Linked DNA regions of Homo sapiens: region 1 is linked to region 2. The links are contacts of gene promoters, found by promoter capture Hi-C in human tissues and cell types (Jung and others, 2019). All regions are on one chromosome and are shown on one strand. Each heading gives the region's core, a stretch centred on a gene start or on the middle of the fragment in contact. The rest is flanking DNA. Distances are from core to core; before and after follow the strand shown. Region 1 has its middle 5.0 kb from the start of LINC01672. Region 2 holds the start of ZBTB48 (zinc finger and BTB domain containing 48).

Region 1 (5,461 bases), core at 278-2,777, 140 kb after region 2:
GCTGATCTCGGGAAGCACATGGCTCTGCCATTTGGTAAGCTTCGTGTCTTAGTCCGTTTGGGCTGCCATAACCAAAGACTATAGATTGGGTGGCTTCAACAACAGACATTTATTCCTCACAGTTCTGGAGGCTGGACAACTCCAAGACCATGGCGCTGGCAGATGTGGTGTCTGGTGAGGGCTGGCTTTTTGGTTTACGTCTGTCTTCTGTTTCCTCATATGGCAGAAGGGCTGAGGTACCTCTCCAGGGCCCCTTTTATTTATTTATTTTTTAATTTTTATTTTTAGTGACTGGGTCTTGCTCTGTCACCCAGGCTGGAGTGCAGTGGCATGATCATAGCTAACTGCAGCCTCCAAATCCTGGGCTCAAGCAATCCTCCCACCTCAGCCTCTCAAGTAGCTGGGACTACAGGCGTGCACTACCATGCCCAGATAATTTTAAAAAATATTTTGTGGCTGGGCGTGGTGGCTCACGCCTGTAATCCCAGCACTTTGGGAGGCCGAGGTGGGCGGAATACATGAGGTCAGGAGTTCGAGACCAGCCTGGCCAACATAGTGAAACCTCGCCTCTACTAAAAATATGAAAATTAGCCGGCCATGGTGGCGGGCACCTGTAATCCCAGCTACTCAGGAAGCTTGAGCCCAGGAATTTGAGACCAGCCTGAGTAACATAGTGAGACCCCATCTCTACAAAAAATGTTTAAAAATTAGCCGGGTGTGGTGGCACATGCCTGTAGTCCCAGCTACTTGGGAGGCTGAGGTGAGACGATCGCTTGAGTCCTGGAGGTTGAGGCTACAGTGGGCTGTGGTGGCACCATTGCACTCCAGCCTGGGTGACAAAACAAGACTCTGTCTCAAAAAAAAAAAAACAAACAAACAAAAAACCTTCTGGGTTTTTGTTGGTCGGTTTGTGTTTTGTTTTGTTTCAATTTGTTTTTCTGTGAGTATTTTATCTTATGAAAATATTGAGAGTCCTTGGGGTGGAAAATGGAGGTGTTCTTGTCTAATGGGTATAGGGTTTCAGTTTTGCAAGATGAGAGTTCTGGATATTGATTTCACAACAATGTGAATGTACTTAGTGTTACTGAACTGTACACTTAAAAATGGTTAAGATGGTAAGTTTTATGTGTATTATGATTAAAAAATATATATATATATGGAGCCTTGACCCCTTGACTTTGGGTGGCTTTTTAATCCAGATACTTTGCTTCTATTTTTATTGTCATCTGGAAAGCCAAGCTGTAAGCAGAAATGCTACTGGTTAGTAAGAGATAGAAAGTTCTGGAACTCAGCAGAGTCACCATTGCTTAGTGCCATACCTGTTCACAGTGCTCACAGCTGGCATTACTAAATGAGTTTTCAACTTTAGAGAAGCACAGCTTTGATTGTATACAGTGGCTGGCCAAGGACTCAGGTCTTCAGTGTTAAAGCTGAAGACGCTTCTCGTGAGGCCGGGAGAGGGTTCCCAATCTCAGCACTATTGACATTTTGGGCTGGATAAGTCCTTGTTGTAGGAACTGATCTATGCATTGAAGGCTATTTAGCAGCATGCCTGGCTTCTACTCATCAGATTCTAGCAGCACCAGTCCCCGGGTGTGGCAGCCAAAAAATGTCTCCAGACATTGCCAAAACCCCCTGGGCACACAAAATTGCCCCTGGTTGAGGACCACAGGTGATGAAGCTGTCGGTCTCAATACACACTTCTCTTCTCCAACACTGGCTTTTCCTACTGCGCCACTGTGAGCAAAGATTTCTAGCTTCTAGAATAAAATGAATTGAAAGAGAAAAATATTTAAGCTAACATTTAAAGCAAGCTTGTCCAACCCGTGGCCCGTGGGTTGCATGCAGCCCAGGACGATTTTGAATGTGGTCCAACACAAATTTGTAAACTTTCTTAAAACATTATGAGATGTCTTTGCTTTTTTTTTGACGGAATCTCACTCTGTTGCCCAGGCTGGAGTGCAGTGGCATGATCTTGGCTCACTGCAATCTCTGCCTCCTGGGTTCAAGTGATGCTCCTGCCTTAGCCTCCTGAATAGCTGGGACTACAGGCATGTGCCACCACGCCCGGCTAATTTTTGTATTTTTAGTAGAGATGGGGTTTCACCATCTTGGCCAGGCTGGTCTTGAACTCCTGACCTCAGGTAATCTGCCTGCCTCGGCCTCCCAAAGTGCTGGGATTACAGCTGTAAATTACGGTGCCTGGCCTTTTTTTTTTTTTTGCTGAAGCACATCAGCTATTGTTAGTGTTTAGTATATTTTATGTGTGGCCCAAGACAATCCTAACAATGTGGCCCAGGGAAGCCAAAAGACGGGACACCCCTGATTTAAAGAATGCTTACAATGTGCCAGATACTGCACTGTGCTACCTGATTAATGATCTCATTTAATCTTTTCAACAATTATCTGATGTAATTATAGACAGCCTCATTTTACAGTTGAGGAAACTGGGGTTTAGAGAAGTTGAATAACAGTGCGAAGTGGCTTATGCCTGTAATCCCAGCACTTTCGGAGGCTGAGATGGACAGATCGCTCAAGCCCAGGAGTTTGAGACAAGTCTGGGAAACATGGCAAAACCCCGTCTCTACAAAAAATACAAACTTAGCCAGGCGTGGTGGTGCTTGTGTGTAGTCTCAGCTACTTGGGAGGCTGAGATGGGAGGATCCCTTGAGCTCAGGAGGCGGAGGTTGCAGTAAGCTGAGATCGCCCCACTGCACTCCAGCCTAGGAAGCAGAGTTCAGACCGTGTCTCAAAAAAAAAAAAAAAAAAAAAAAAAAAAGAGGTTGAGTACTCGTTCCAGCTCACGGAGCTAGTAAATAGAAAGACCAGGATTCAGACTCAGGTTTGTATCTTTCAATGACTGTTTTTATGTTTCCTTGGTTTATTTATGTTTTCTCTTTGAGATTAACTTATATGATGATGTTTCAGAGGACTTTTAGCCATAGGTGTGATAACACCAGCTTGATTTTAGAATTCCCTGGGATATGCGGCGTGTAGATGTTATCTGTGACCCATGAAGGTAGAGAATGTTTTATCGGCCACTCAACAGCTCTGACTCTTAAGATAAAGTCTCTATGAGTTAGGAGGTAAGTACATTACTGCCTACATCACTGCCCCTCTGGGAAAAATGTCGGTTAAGGGGCCACAGCACTGGTCCCCTTCCCAGTTGTAATAATGCTTGCATGTCCCTTAACCAGCAGAGGGCAGACTTGTGGTCCCAATGAACAGAAGCGTACAAAGAGACTGCACTTGAAGGTTTAGAATAGGAAGGGGGATGTTTCAGGAAAATGGCGCCCCCATCACCTGCTTGTGCAGAAGCAGGGCTGTTTTGTGGACAATGTGTTTGATTCTCTGGTTCTTTTCTCTTTTTCTTTTCATTTTTTTTTTTTTTTTTTTTTGAGACAGAATTTTGCTTTTGTTGCCCAAGCTAGAGTGCAATGGCGCAATCTTGGCTCACTGCAACCTCCGCCTCCCGGGTTCAAGCAATTCTCCAGCCTCAGCCTCCCTAGTCGCTGGGATTACAGGCGTGCACCACCGCGTCTGGCTAATTTTTTTTTGAGACAGAGTCTCACACTGTCATCCGGGCTGGAGTGCAATGGCGTGATCTTGGCTCGCTGCAACCTCTGCCTCCCGGGTTCAAGCGATTCTTCTGCCTCAGCCTCTCGAGTAGCTGGGATCACAGGTGCCCGCCACCACGCCTGGCTAATTTTATGTATTTTCAGTAGAGACGGGGTTTCACTATGTTGGCCAGGCTGGTCTTGAACTCCTGACCTTGTGATCCACCTGCTTCAGCCTCCCAAAGTACTGGGATTACAGGCGTGAGCCACCGTGCCCGGCCCTGGCTATGTTTTTTGTATTTTTTTTTTTAAAGTAGAAACAGGGTTTCACCATGTTAGCCAGGCTGGTCTTGAACTCCTGACCTCAGGTGATCTGTCCGCCTCAGCCTCCCAAAGTGCTGGGATTACAGGCATGAGCCACCACGCCTGGCCTCTCTGGTTCTTTTCAAAAGTGCACGACCTCCTTCCAGAAGGCTCACAATAAGTGGGCATACCACCTTAGTTCTGTTTTCCCAGTCCTGGTTTATCTTTTTGTATTTTTTTATTTTGAGACAGTGTCTCTGTCACTCTGTCAGGCTGGAGTGCAATGGTGTGATCTTGGCTCACTGTAGCCTCCACCTCCTGGGCTCAAGCAATCCTCCCATCTCAGCCTCCTGAGTAGCTGGGACTACAGGCACATGCCTCCACGCCTGGCTAATTTTTGCATTTTGTGTGGAGACAAGGTCTTGCTATGTTGGCCAGGCTGGTCTCAAACTCCTAGGCTCAAGCCATCCGCCTGCCTTGGCCACCCAAATTGCTGGGATTACAGGCATGGGCCACCACGCCCGGGCCTAGTCTTGGTTTTTCATTGTGAAGATGATCCTGGGCCTGAAAGTATTCCAGGAGCAAAGCCTGTTTCTGCCATGCGGGACACCATCAAGGAGAGGGTTTTCCTCTGCACCCTCCTTTTTGGTAGGTTCTCAGGGGTTCAGTGCCATGACTGCGAAGTCAGACCATGTGTTCAGGCCCCAGCATGCTACAGGAGGCCCCAGCACGCTACTGGAAGCAGGATGCTGGATCTAGAAGGTGATGGATGTATTAACATGAGGAAAGTCACTCACGTTTTTACCTCATGTAAAAGGAAATTACCAAGAGAATCTGCAGCCAAAATCCTGTCCAGACTGAAACTCTGATGAACTTACCCAAATCTTCCCTTTCCCAGGCTTTCCTGCATGACAGTTCCAGGAAGATTCAACAAAAGCCACGGCTTCTCTGAGTTTGTTGTTTCCTGGAGAAACAAGCTTTCACCTGCCACCTGGCCCTCTGTAGCTGCTTATAAATACAGATGTGGGTGGCAGAGTCATGCCAATCATGATAAGCTGTTCATACAGAGGCTTTTCACTCACTGTCCGTGTTACCAACAGTATCTTAGTAGAGTCAAGAGTTTTGTTTTTAAATTTTTTAATTTTTAAATAAAGATGAGGTCTCACTAGGTTGCTGCAGCTGGTCTTGAACTCCTGGCCTTAAGTGATCCTCTCCCACCTCGGGCCTCCCATGTTACTGGGATTACAGGTGTGAGCCACCACACCCAGCCTCAAGCATTTTCTTTCTTTTTTAAAATTTATTTTTATTATTTATTTATTTATTTTTTGAGACGGAGTCTCGCTCTGTGGCCCAGGCTGGAGTGCAGTGGCACGATCTTGGCTCACTGCAACCTCTGCCTCCTGGGTTCAAGCAATTCTCCTGCCTCAGTCTCCTGTGTAGCTGGGATTACAGGCACACACCACAACACCCAGATAATTTTTGTATTTTTAATAGAGATGGGGTTTTGTCATGTTGGCCAGGCTGGTTTCGAACTCCTGACCTCAGGTGATCCACCTGCCTTGGCCTCCCGAAGTGCTGGGATTACAGGCTTGAGCCACAGT
Region 2 (5,402 bases), core at 2,903-5,402:
GCCACCACGCCCAGCTAATTTTTTTTGTATTTTGAGTAGAGACGGGGTTTCACCATGTTAGCCAGGATGGTCTCAATCTCCTGACCTTGTCATCCGCCCACCTCGTCCTCCCAAAGTGCTGGGATTACAGGCGTGAGCCACCGCACCCGGCCTAATTTTTGTATTTTTAGTAGAGATGGGGTTTCACCATGTTGGCCAGGCTGGTCTCGAACTCCTGGCATCAAGTGATCCTCCTGCTTCGGCCTCCCAAAGTGCTGGGATTACAGGCATTAGCTCTCTTCTCTTAGACAGATCTTTCTCTCTGATCCTTGCCTTCTCTCACCCACTGTGTCTTGGAAGTGTCAAGTGATAAGATCCAGGGCTAAAACTGTCTGTAAAGGAGTGTTTGTTAGAGGCCTCCTCTCAGGAGGTTGGTGGGGAAGATTGAGGGGCTTCCTAAGAAGGAAGGGACGAGACCTTCCTGATGGGCTGAAACCACCAGGACGGAAACCCAGGAAGGCCCCAGGCCCTTGCTTCTGGGACCATGTGGGTCTGTGCTGTCTGTGGTGGCTTCATGATACGCGTTTCTTTCAGCTTTTGGAGCAGATCCACAAGGTGCATTTCCTTCTACACAAGGACACTGTGGCGTTTAATGACAACAGAGATCCCCTCAGTAGCTATAACATAATTGCCTGGGACTGGAATGGACCCAAGTGGACCTTCACGGTCCTCGGTTCCTCCACATGGTCTCCAGTTCAGCTAAACATAAATGAGACCAAAATCCAGTGGCACGGAAAGGACAACCAGGTAATGGGGATGTGGCTACTCACCATGTAACTGGCTTATGGGCAACCTAGAGCCTGGGGGTGATGCTGACACAGTGTACAGGGAGCAGGAGGGGGGCCCCAGGGGTCCAGCTGCCACCACTCTACCCATCCTGGCCAGGGAAGCAGGGAAGACACTCCGTAGGCGAGTGTGCAGATGCCCTGGGGCGGAAGTTCACACGACCAGGGGCCCTGCCCTGGGAGTGAGCCCTGAGGGCAGATGCACAGAGATTCTGTTTTCTGTTCCACATGTGAGCTGTCCTTTGACTTGGGCCCCTACGTGTGGCCCCTCTGGCTTCTTACAGGTGCCTAAGTCTGTGTGTTCCAGCGACTGTCTTGAAGGGCACCAGCGAGTGGTTACGGGTTTCCATCACTGCTGCTTTGAGTGTGTGCCCTGTGGGGCTGGGACCTTCCTCAACAAGAGTGGTGAGTGGGCAATGGAGCAGGCGAGCTACCCAGCACTCCCGGGGGCTGCACGGTGGAGGGAGGGCCTCCCTTGGGCCCCATGTGCCCTGCCCCAGAACCAAGGCCCAGTCACTGGGCTGCCAGTTAGCTTCAGGTTGGAGGACACCTGCTACCAGACAGAATTCTGATCAAGAGAATCAGCCACTGGGTGCGGTGGCTCATGCCTGTAATCCCAGCACTTTGGGAGGCTGAGGCGGGTGGATCACTTGAGGTCGGGAGTTCGAGACCAGCCTGGCCAACATGGTGAAACCCCATCTCTACCAAAAATATAAAAAATTAGCTGGGTGTGGTGGCGCGTGCCTGTAATCCCAGCTACTCGGGAGGCTGAGGCAGGAGAATCACTTGAACCCAGGAGGCGGAGGTTGCAGTGAGCCAAGATGCATTCCAGCCTGGACCACAAAGCGAGAATTCGTCCCCCCAAAAAAAGAAAGGAGGCCGGGCGCGGTGGCTCACACCTGTAATCCCAGCACTTTGGGAGGCCGAGGTGGGTGGATCACCTGAGGTCAGGAGTTCGAGACCAGCCTGACCAACATGGTGAAACCCCATCTCTACTAAAAATACAAAAAAAGTTAGCCGGGCGTTGTGGCGTGTGCCTGTAATTCCAGCTACTCGGGAGGCTGAGGCAGGAGAATTGCTTGAACCCGGGAGGCGGAGGTTGCAGTGAGCCAAGATTGCACCATTGCACTCCAGCCTGGGCGACAAGAGAAAAACTCTGTCTCAAAAAAAAAGAAAGAAAGAAAGAATTAGCCAACTGAAAGCCTTAGACTGAGGTGTGTCCTCTGTTAGAGAGCTGTCATCACAACTCCTACAAAAGCAGTCGTATCCTGAATTCAACCTCTTTCTCTAAATGAATATAGCTATTGTTCCCTTTGTGCCCTCTTGTCCTACTGTCCCTTCTGTTGCCCATGCCAAAGACAGCTAGCTCCTTGAACAGCTTGGCCTGAATACAGATACTAGCGTGTCTGCAGCAGAGAAAAAAACAGCATTCCCCATCCAGAAATGCAAGGTCAAGAACAGAGAGCAAATTAGGTAGCTAAGGACTCAGGTCCTTAGTTGGTGTCCAGGGGCCACATTCTTTCCTTTCACCATCTCTGTAGGGACAGGAATACTTCCCTTCTGTCCTCAGAGGGTCAGGACTCAGAGAAACCACAGAGCAGCAGCTCAGGAAAGTGGTTCATGGAAATGCTGGCAAGAGAGAGGGGTTACAATGCCCTCCCTTGGGAGCAGGCTGCTCCCATCAGATCGTAACCTCTCTGGTATGTGGGCAGAGCTACCAGGTTAAGGTCCTCCCTAGGGTTTGCAAAACCCTCATGGGATCATGAGCCATACAGAACCGACCTGTGTGTCTCCAGAGTCTGTAATTAACACAGGCATTTTGAGGAAATGCGTGGCCTCAGGCCCCACTCCCGGCTACCCCCATCCCACTATGCCTAGTATAGTCTAGCTGCCCTGGTACAATTCTCCCAGTATCTTGCAGGCCCCTATTTCCTATTCCTACTCTGCTCATCTGGCTCTCAGGAACCTTCTTGGCCTTCCCTTTCAGACCTCTACAGATGCCAGCCTTGTGGGAAAGAAGAGTGGGCACCTGAGGGAAGCCAGACCTGCTTCCCGCGCACTGTGGTGTTTTTGGCTTTGCGTGAGCACACCTCTTGGGTGCTGCTGGCAGCTAACACGCTGCTGCTGCTGCTGCTGCTTGGGACTGCTGGCCTGTTTGCCTGGCACCTAGACACCCCTGTGGTGAGGTCAGCAGGGGGCCGCCTGTGCTTTCTTATGCTGGGCTCCCTGGCAGCAGGTAGTGGCAGCCTCTATGGCTTCTTTGGGGAACCCACAAGGCCTGCGTGCTTGCTACGCCAGGCCCTCTTTGCCCTTGGTTTCACCATCTTCCTGTCCTGCCTGACAGTTCGCTCATTCCAACTAATCATCATCTTCAAGTTTTCCACCAAGGTACCTACATTCTACCACGCCTGGGTCCAAAACCACGGTGCTGGCCTGTTTGTGATGATCAGCTCAGCGGCCCAGCTGCTTATCTGTCTAACTTGGCTGGTGGTGTGGACCCCACTGCCTGCTAGGGAATACCAGCGCTTCCCCCATCTGGTGATGCTTGAGTGCACAGAGACCAACTCCCTGGGCTTCATACTGGCCTTCCTCTACAATGGCCTCCTCTCCATCAGTGCCTTTGCCTGCAGCTACCTGGGTAAGGACTTGCCAGAGAACTACAACGAGGCCAAATGTGTCACCTTCAGCCTGCTCTTCAACTTCGTGTCCTGGATCGCCTTCTTCACCACGGCCAGCGTCTACGACGGCAAGTACCTGCCTGCGGCCAACATGATGGCTGGGCTGAGCAGCCTGAGCAGCGGCTTCGGTGGGTATTTTCTGCCTAAGTGCTACGTGATCCTCTGCCGCCCAGACCTCAACAGCACAGAGCACTTCCAGGCCTCCATTCAGGACTACACGAGGCGCTGCGGCTCCACCTGACCAGTGGGTCAGCAGGCACGGCTGGCAGCCTTCTCTGCCCTGAGGGTCGAAGGTCGAGCAGGCCGGGGGTGTCCGGGAGGTCTTTGGGCATCGCGGTCTGGGGTTGGGACGTGTAAGCGCCTGGGAGAGCCTAGACCAGGCTCCGGGCTGCCAATAAAGAAGTGAAATGCGTATCTGGTCTCCTGTCGTGGGAGAGTGTGAGGTGTAACGGATTCAAGTCTGAACCCAGAGCCTGGAAAAGGCTGACCGCCCAGATTGACGTTGCTAGGCAACTCCGGAGGCGGGCCCAGCGCCAAAAGAACAGGGCGAGGCGTCGTCCCCGCATCCCATTGGCCGTTCTCTGCGGGGCCCCGCCCTCGGGGGCCGGAGCTAGAAGCTCTACGCTTCCGAGGCGCACCTCCTGGCCTGCACGCTTTGACGTCACGTCCGGCGCGGAGACGGTGGAGTCTCCGCACTGTCGGCGGGGTACGCATAGCCGGGCACTAGGTTCGTGGGCTGTGGAGGCGACGGAGCAGGGGGCCAGTGGGGCCAGCTCAGGGAGGACCTGCCTGGGTGAGGAGGGCGCGGGGTGAGGGAGGGAGGGGCTGCGGGCCGCCGTGGCTGCCTTCCGCTCGGCCGCTCGGGACCTGTGGGCGCGGCGTGGGCTTCGCTCACCTGTCCCCGGCTGCCGCCCTCCGCCGTCCGGGATCCTCTCACTGTGCCGGGCCAGTCCGTTCGCTCTCATCCCATGTCTCCTTTCCCCAAACTTGGATTTTTCTCACCAGGCCCTTCTTCACGACCCTGGCCCCCCATCCAGCATCCCCCCTGGCCAATCCAATATGGCCCCCGGCCCCCGGGAGGCTGTCAGTGTGTTCCAGCCCTCCGCGTGCACCCCTCACCCTGACCCAAGCCCTCGTGCTGATAAATATGATTATTTGAGTAGAGGCCAACTTCCCGTTTCTCTCTCTTGACTCCAGGAGCTTTCTCTTGCATACCCTCGCTTAGGCTGGCCGGGGTGTCACTTCTGCCTCCCTGCCCTCCAGACCATGGACGGCTCCTTCGTCCAGCACAGTGTGAGGGTTCTGCAGGAGCTCAACAAGCAGCGGGAGAAGGGCCAGTACTGCGACGCCACTCTGGACGTGGGGGGCCTGGTGTTTAAGGCACACTGGAGTGTCCTTGCCTGCTGCAGTCACTTTTTCCAGAGCCTCTACGGGGATGGCTCAGGGGGCAGTGTCGTCCTCCCTGCTGGCTTCGCTGAGATCTTTGGCCTCTTGTTGGACTTTTTCTACACTGGTCACCTCGCTCTCACCTCAGGGAACCGGGATCAGGTGCTCCTGGCAGCCAGGGAGTTGCGAGTGCCAGAGGCCGTAGAGCTGTGCCAGAGCTTCAAGCCCAAAACTTCAGTGGGACAGGCAGCAGGTGGCCAGAGTGGGCTGGGGCCCCCTGCCTCCCAGAATGTGAACAGCCACGTCAAGGAGCCGGCAGGCTTGGAAGAAGAGGAAGTTTCGAGGACTCTGGGTCTAGTCCCCAGGGATCAGGAGCCCAGAGGCAGTCATAGTCCTCAGAGGCCCCAGCTCCATTCCCCAGCTCAGAGTGAGGGCCCCTCCTCCCTCTGTGGGAAACTGAAGCAGGCCTTGAAGCCTTGTCCCCTTGAGGACAAGAAACCCGAGGACTGCAAAG

Evidence for each region. Contacts are between HindIII fragments. The study calls those that stand out against the background at their distance.
Region 1: a fragment that was not itself captured here is called in contact with the fragment with the promoter of ZBTB48 in region 2 in 1 of the 25 tissues and cell types used here (spleen).

What each region holds. Positions count from the first base shown.
Region 1 is chr1:6,716,975-6,722,435 of GRCh38, forward strand. No RefSeq gene overlaps it. Among named protein-coding and RNA genes, the nearest start is that of LINC01672, 5.0 kb to the right of the region's middle. The HindIII fragment of the contact is 3,595 bases long and covers 1-3,325 here.
Region 2 is chr1:6,575,842-6,581,243 of GRCh38, forward strand. ZBTB48 (zinc finger and BTB domain containing 48) reads left to right here and starts at 4,153. Exons shown (of 11, transcript NM_005341.4): 1 at 4,153-4,295; 2 at 4,700-5,402. The coding sequence starts at 4,769. It overlaps TAS1R1 (taste 1 receptor member 1), which reads left to right. Exons shown (of 6, transcript NM_138697.4): 4 at 574-786; 5 at 1,109-1,229; 6 at 2,812-3,914. The coding sequence ends at 3,743. LOC107984912 (a long non-coding RNA gene) reads right to left here and starts at 3,592. Exons shown (of 3, transcript XR_002958250.1): 1 at 3,506-3,592. RefSeq lists an enhancer at 3,537-4,236 and a silencer at 4,288-4,417. The HindIII fragment of the contact is 13,841 bases long and covers 1-5,402 here.